Regions from separate parts of the Homo sapiens genome. Here region 1 is linked to region 2. The links are contacts of gene promoters, found by promoter capture Hi-C in human tissues and cell types (Jung and others, 2019). All regions are on one chromosome and are shown on one strand. The core of a region is centred on a gene start or on the middle of the fragment in contact, and the rest is flanking DNA. Distances in the headings are between cores, read along the strand shown.

Region 1 (3,163 bases), core at 310-2,809, 190 kb after region 2:
CCAGACCAGCCTGGCCAAGGTGGTGAAACCCTGTCTCTACTAAAAATACAAAAATTAGCCAGGCGTGGTAGTGCGTGCCTGTAATCCCAGCTACTCCGGAGTCTGAGGCAGGAGAATTGCTTGAACCTGGGAGGCCGAGGTTGCAGTGATCACGCCATTGCACTCCAGCCTGGGCGACAGGGTGAAACTCTATCTCAATTAAAAAAATAGAAAGAGGCCGGGCACGGTGGACACGCCTGTAATCCTAGCACTTTGGGAGGCCGAGGCGGGTGGATCACCTGAGGTCAGGAGTTTGAGACCAGCCTGGTCAACATGGCAAAACTCCGTCTCTACTAAAAATAGAAAAATTAGCTGGGCGTGGTGGTGGTGGTGCGCACCGGTAATCCCAGCTACTAGTGGGGGCTAAGGCAGGAGAATTGCTTGAACCCGGGAGGTGGAGGTTGCAGTGAGCGGAGATCGCACCACTGCACTCCAGCCTGGGCGACAGAGCAAGACTTCATCTCAAACAAACAAACAAACAAAAAAACCCCAAAAGAGCTCCCATGCAACAAGTTTAAATTCCTATCAAACCCAGGGGATAGCGAAGCCAGCCTGTGACCTACCCGTCCAGTTACACTGCGCCTGTTCTCTCCCTGTGTCTTCTTCCTTCTCCACTGTAAGCCTAGGAAACCGCCAGAAAGTGCAGCTAGCCAGCAAAGGGATGCCCCACAGGGAAAACAGTATCCCACGCCCAGCCGCCTCCCCACCAGGAGCTGGGGGTGGGGAGAAGCTGTCATTTGGGGGGGTTGACACTTACATGGCACTGCACATGTTATTTTATTTTATTTATGTATTTATTTGAGATGGAGTCTTGCTCTGTCACCCAGGTTGGGGTACAATGGTGTGATCTCGGCTCATTGCAACCTCCACCTCTGGGTTCAAGCGATTCTCATGCCTCAGCCTCCCAAGTAGCTGGGATCACAGGTGCGTGCTACCACGCCTGGCTAATTTTTGTATTTTTAGTAGACACAGGGTTTCACCATGTTTGCCAGGCTGGTCTCGAATTCCTGACCTCAGGTGATCCGCTCACCTTGGCCTCCCAAACTGCTGGGATTACAGGCGTGAGCCACCGTGCCTGGCCTGGGACTGCACATTGTAGATCCTGATTGGAGAGAGGGGCCAGCAGAGTCAAGGGCCTGCCTTAGATCTCATGCAAGGCATGAATAAGAGCATTTGAACAGGTTTGAACCAGGCAGTGGGGGGAAGATTAAGTGTTTTCTACACCCAATGAGTCCCACTTGTTCAATGTACCAGTTACACAAAAAAGCTTTAAAAATATGCCAGGGTTAATCTCCCAATTTCAGGGAAGCACAATTAGCACATCCATTAATTAGGGCTCCATTTACACTTCCTGTCTCACTTCTAAATACCTGTGTGTGTGGAGCCAGTTCTAATTGTAGCACTCATTAATGTTCTATTTGTGATGTGGGTTTCAGGTACCTGGGAACCTCACACTAACATTACCCCGTGTCCTGGAACTTAGTACAGATGCATCCCTTTGGGGCCTCATCTGTGGGGTGCTTAATTCTAGAAGAGTTAGGAGAACATCACTGGCATGCTACCCAATTGCATGGGTTCTGGGAACAGACCTCGGCACACATTTGAATTTTTCATATGCCTTTTATTTTTATTTTATTTATTATTATTATTTTTTTGAGACAGAGTCTCTCTCTGTCGCCCAGGCTGGAGCGCAATGGCGCCATCTGGGCTGACTGCAACCTCCACCTCCCAGGTTCAAGTGATTCTCCTGCCTCAGACTTCTGAGTGCCACCACACCTGACTAATTTCTGTATTTTTGGCAGAGATGGGATTTCACCACGTTGGCCAGGCTGGTCTCAAACTCCTGACCTCAGGTGATCCACCTGCCTCGGCCTCCCAAAGTGCTGGGATTACAGGCGTGAGCTACTGCACCTGGCCGTATGCCTTTTAAGTGTTTTGTTTTGTTTTGTTTTTGAGACAGGGTCTTGCTCTGTGCAGTGGCACAATCTCAGCTCACTGTAGCCTCAACTTCCTGGGCTCAATGATCCTCTCACCTTAGCCTCTTGAGTAGCTGGGACTATAGGCATGCGCCACCACACCTGGCTAATTTTTGTATTTTTTGTAGGGTTTCACCATGTTGCCCAGGCTGGTCTCGAACTCCTGGGCTCAAGCGATCCACCTGCCTCAGCCTCCCAAAGTGCTGGGATTATAGGTGTGAGCCACAGACGGGCACGGCTTAAATGTTCTTAACCTTCTCCTATACTGGACTTGTGATGAAGGCCAAGTGTCTGACTTAAGCTGACACGTAATTACCCTTTACAATAAATTGAAGATGGGACAGGCGTTGTTGAGCCGTTGAGAGGGATACAGAAATGGAGACGAGACCTGGGCCCTTGAAGAGGCTCCTGTTTTCACCATGTGGACTTGGCTGCCGTCCCAGCTCTGATAGGTGTCAGCTACAGTGATTAAAACCTCCGTGTGTCTAACCCTTCCCATACAAATGCAGAAGGATGGCCGGCTGGTGGCTGGGCTCCTCCTAATCCCAGGACGAGGGAGAGCCAGACAGGATCCTGGGTTAAACGACACTGCACCAGCCAAGTGGCACGTAGCTTCTCATTTATGGGATGTGGCCCCAACTGTGACTCGTCTTTCCTTTTTTTTTTTTTTTTTGAGACGGAGTCTCACTCTGTCACCCAGGCTGGAGTTCAGTGGCACGATCTCGGCTCACTGCAAGCCCCGCCTCCCGGGTTCACGCCATTCTCTTGCCTCGGCCTCCCGAGTAGCTGGGACTACAGGCACCCGCCACCACGCCCGGCTAATTTTTTGTATTTTTAGTAGAGACGGGGTTTCACCATGTTAGCCAGAATGGTCTCGATCTCCTGACCTCGTGATCCGCCCGCCTCGGCCTCCCAAACTGTTGGGATTACAGGCATGAGCCACTGTGCCCAGCCAACATCTGGCTAATTTTCATATTTTGGGGAGAGACGTGGTTTCACCATGTTGCCCAGGCTGGTCTCCCAACTCCTGAGCTCAAAGGATCCACCCACCTCAACCTCCCAAAGTGCTGGGATTGCAGGTGTAAGCCACCACTCCCGGCCAGTGGTGGTGTTTTTACAATGGTAAATGACCATCACCACCATCCATC
Region 2 (3,436 bases), core at 891-3,390:
TGTGATTAAGTGATGGTACATTGCTTGACTCGGAGGTTCCATCCATGGTAATAATTGTAAGTACACTAATATATGTATATATACGTAATACACAAACAAATGTAATACAGTGTCTGTAGACATGCTAATATATGTATACAAGCGTAAGCATAGACGTATACCAAGGTCAAGCCTGTAGTCAGTTCTCAGTCCTCATCTGAGCTCATCAGCACAGGCTGTCCCTCCCTCCTTGACTCTCATCCTTTACTAGGTTTTGGGGACATTCTGCCCTCAGGGTCTTCCACACCTGCAAGGGCCCCTTCTCTTTTTCCTTTTTTCCCCTTTGCCCCAATCCCTAAATGCCACAGAGTTCAATCTTTGACCCCATTCTCTTTCCAATCAACAAGGGGCCTACCCAAGGTGAGAGCAGTGGGACCTGAGGCCCAAAAAGACTGGGCTGGAAAATGGAACAGGTCCCCCAGCATCCCAATGTGCCCGGAAAGGACGACACTCCAGGGGGAAACACCTCCTGCCACGCCCTGGTCTCCAGGGGTGAGCATCCAGGGTACTAGGGCAAGCTGGCTGCTCCCAAAGGCAAGATGGTGCCTCCTACAGGCAAGATGGCAGCCTCCACGGAGGAAGATGGCGGCTACCTTCCACCCACGACCCCGGTCAGCTGCTGCCCGGCCCACCTTGTGCCCACCTTGTGCCCACCTTGTGCGGCGTGTTGACCACAGAGAGGTTGTAGCCGTACTGGAAGGCTGAGCCAAAGGCCGCGCTCAGTGTCGCCAGCAACAGCGTCGGCTGGAGCCGCTGTAGGAGACAAGTCCAAGGTCGGGACGCTGTGGGCTTGGGCCTCGGGAAGTGGAGTGGCTGGGCCTCCACCTCCCTCCAGCCTGGGCTGGAAGTGGGGGATGGGGGATCCCAGGCCGTGCCCCCGGAAAAGAGGAGGAGGTGGCGCAGGGCTGGGGCTTTTGGGGGCTGAGGTCTCTGCACGCATTCATTCCCTCCTTGAGGATGTATCTGAGCATCTGCTACGTGCCTGGCCCTGTACTAGGCCCTGGAGGCCAAGTGTGAAGTAGGGGATGCTTTAGGAAAAAGGCCCAGCAAAGCACTGCCTTTAAGAAGCTCACTTTCTAGTGAGGGGAGCCCACCCCGTCCAAGAAAGACAAAGATGATAATTCCAAATAGCTAGAATGCTGTGAGGACAATAAAATAGGGTGATGGGTGGGGTAGCAGCCTGTGAGGAATGAGAGACTGTGTTCAGTAGGGTGGGCAGGGCAGGGAAGGCCTCTCTGAGCAGGCGCCCTTTGAGCCGGGACCAGAATGGATGAGAGGGAGCAGCTGTGTAAGCATCGGGGGGAAGAGCATCCCAGACAGAGGGACTCATTGCTTGCCTCTGCCTCTAGAACAGGCCCTTAGGAAAATCCCGGCAGTCGCCTGTGCTCAGGGCCAGGCTTTCCATGGTTGCCACAACACCCAGGGCAGCTTGGAGGGGAACTGGCCTGAGGGCCAAAGTCTGAGGAGCAGGTGGGCAGGGTCTCTGACCATGTCCTAGAGCCAAGGCCCTGGTGCATGCCCCCTCCCCACTGCCCCCTCCACCCCTCACTCCTGTTCCACATGTCCTCACCCCAACCCTCACACTTAGCTGCCTGGCTGCCCACAGCCCGTAGCTCTGCACATCCAGGAACAACCAGACAGAAGGGCAGGATTCGGGCATTCTTCAGAGGCCATCTCCCCTCGATCTTTAAGGGTAGGGGAAGCGGAGGGGAGCAGGGGTGGAAGGGAGAGAGGCATCTCCAGCACCATCCGCTCTCCCAGCATTCGCTCAGCCACCCTGGCCCATGTCTGAGCCATGAGGTTTGAGCATAGCTGCTTCTCCACATGGCTCTCCCAGGCCTGGTTATCCTGAAGAAAAAGGAAGCACGCTACCCGCTCCTTGCTAAAAGCATTCCACGGCCTTCACCTCCCTCCACAGGTCTGCACAGCTGGTGGGAGAGGGACAGTGACAGGTTCCTAGTCTTGGCACTTACCCCCTCCCTGGATGGAATGGGTGGAGGGGTTCCCGCCTCTTTGTTCTCCATCCTTGTTCAGGTGGGAGAACAGGTGTGCTCTACCTCCCAAGTGACACCTGCTCTGCGCCAGCCACCTAAAGACCGGCTGTTTCTCCCCTGGGCCTACCTGGCTTTATGATCCTTTTGCTCTCTGGACCCTGCTGACTTTCCCCAGGAGCAAATTCTCCTTGGAAATGTTGATAAGACACACGTTGCCAGTGCACAAATCATACACAGCACGAATTTCGTCTTTGCACCCACCAAGCCCCAAGCCGAAAGCTCCCTAGTTGCACCAAGGAGAGAGAAAAAACATTGCCTGACATTGGTCCGCAGAAATGAGGACTTTCAGAGACCCAGTGAGGCTGTGACCTGGATCTAGGATGCTTTTTCTGTGTCATTTTTCCATGTATGCCTCTTTTTTTTTTGAGACAGGGTCTTCCTTTGTTGCCCAGGCTGGAGTGCAGTGGCGCAATCTCAGCTCACTGCAACCTCGGCTTCCTGGGCTCAAGCTATTCTCCTGCCTTAGCTTCCCAAGTAGCCGGGATTATAGGCACGTGCCGCCACACCCAGCTTTTTTTTTTTTTTTTTTTTTTTTTTGAGGTGGAGTCTCGCTTTGTCGCCCAGGCTGGAGTGCGGTGGCGCAATCTCAGCTCACTGCAAGCTCTGCCTCCCGGGTTCACGCCATTCTCCTGTCTCAGCCTCCTGAGTAGCTGGGACCACAGGTGCCTGCCACCATGCCTGGCTAATTTTTTTTTTGTATTTTTAGTAGAGACGGGGTTTCACCGTGTTAGCCAGGATGGCCTGGATCTCCTGACTTCATGATCTGCCCGCCTCGGCCTCCCAAAGTGCTGGGATTACAGGCGTGAGCCACCGTACCCAGCCTTTTTTTGTGTGTTTTTAGTAGAGATGAGGTTTCACCATGTTGGCCAGGCTGGTCTAGAACTCCTGACCTCTAGTGATCCGCCTGCCTTGGCCTCCCAAAGTGCTGGGCTTACAGGCATGAGCCACCGCACCTGGCTTTTTTTTTTTTTTTAACTTTTATTTTAGGTTCAGGGTATATGTGAAGGTTTGTTACATAGGTAAACTCGTGCCACGGGGGTTTGTTGTACAGATTATTTCATCACCCAGGTATTAAGCCCACTTCCCAGTGTTTGTTTGCTGCTCCTCTCCCTCCTCCCACCCTCCAGCCGGAAGTAGATCCCAGTGTTTGCTGTTCCTTTCTGTGTGTTCCTAGGTTCTTCATATATGCCTCCTCTTGTGCATTTGGACTAATTGTCCATTTGGGGGAAAGAACAAATTAAACACTTTCAGAAAAACACAGTTATTATTTCTAATTACACTAAATAGTGTTAAATAAGTCAATAAAATATTGGACAAAGGTGCTTATTTCAGAATCATTTCTA

The links. The method cuts DNA at HindIII sites, captures the fragments that hold promoters and counts their contacts. A contact is called where the count stands out against the background at its distance.
Region 1: a contact is called between a fragment that was not itself captured here and the fragment with the promoter of SLC2A7 in region 2, in 1 of the 25 tissues and cell types used here (spleen).

Annotation. Positions count from the first base shown.
Region 1 is chr1:9,215,714-9,218,876 of GRCh38, forward strand. No RefSeq gene overlaps it. Among named protein-coding and RNA genes, the nearest start is that of H6PD, 17 kb to the right of the region's middle. RefSeq lists an enhancer at 194-721. The HindIII fragment of the contact is 4,427 bases long and covers 1-3,163 here.
Region 2 is chr1:9,024,283-9,027,718 of GRCh38, forward strand. It overlaps SLC2A7 (solute carrier family 2 member 7), which reads right to left and starts at 2,141. Exons shown (of 12, transcript NM_207420.3): 1 at 2,013-2,141; 2 at 694-792. The coding sequence starts at 2,063. The HindIII fragment of the contact is 20,163 bases long and covers 1-3,436 here.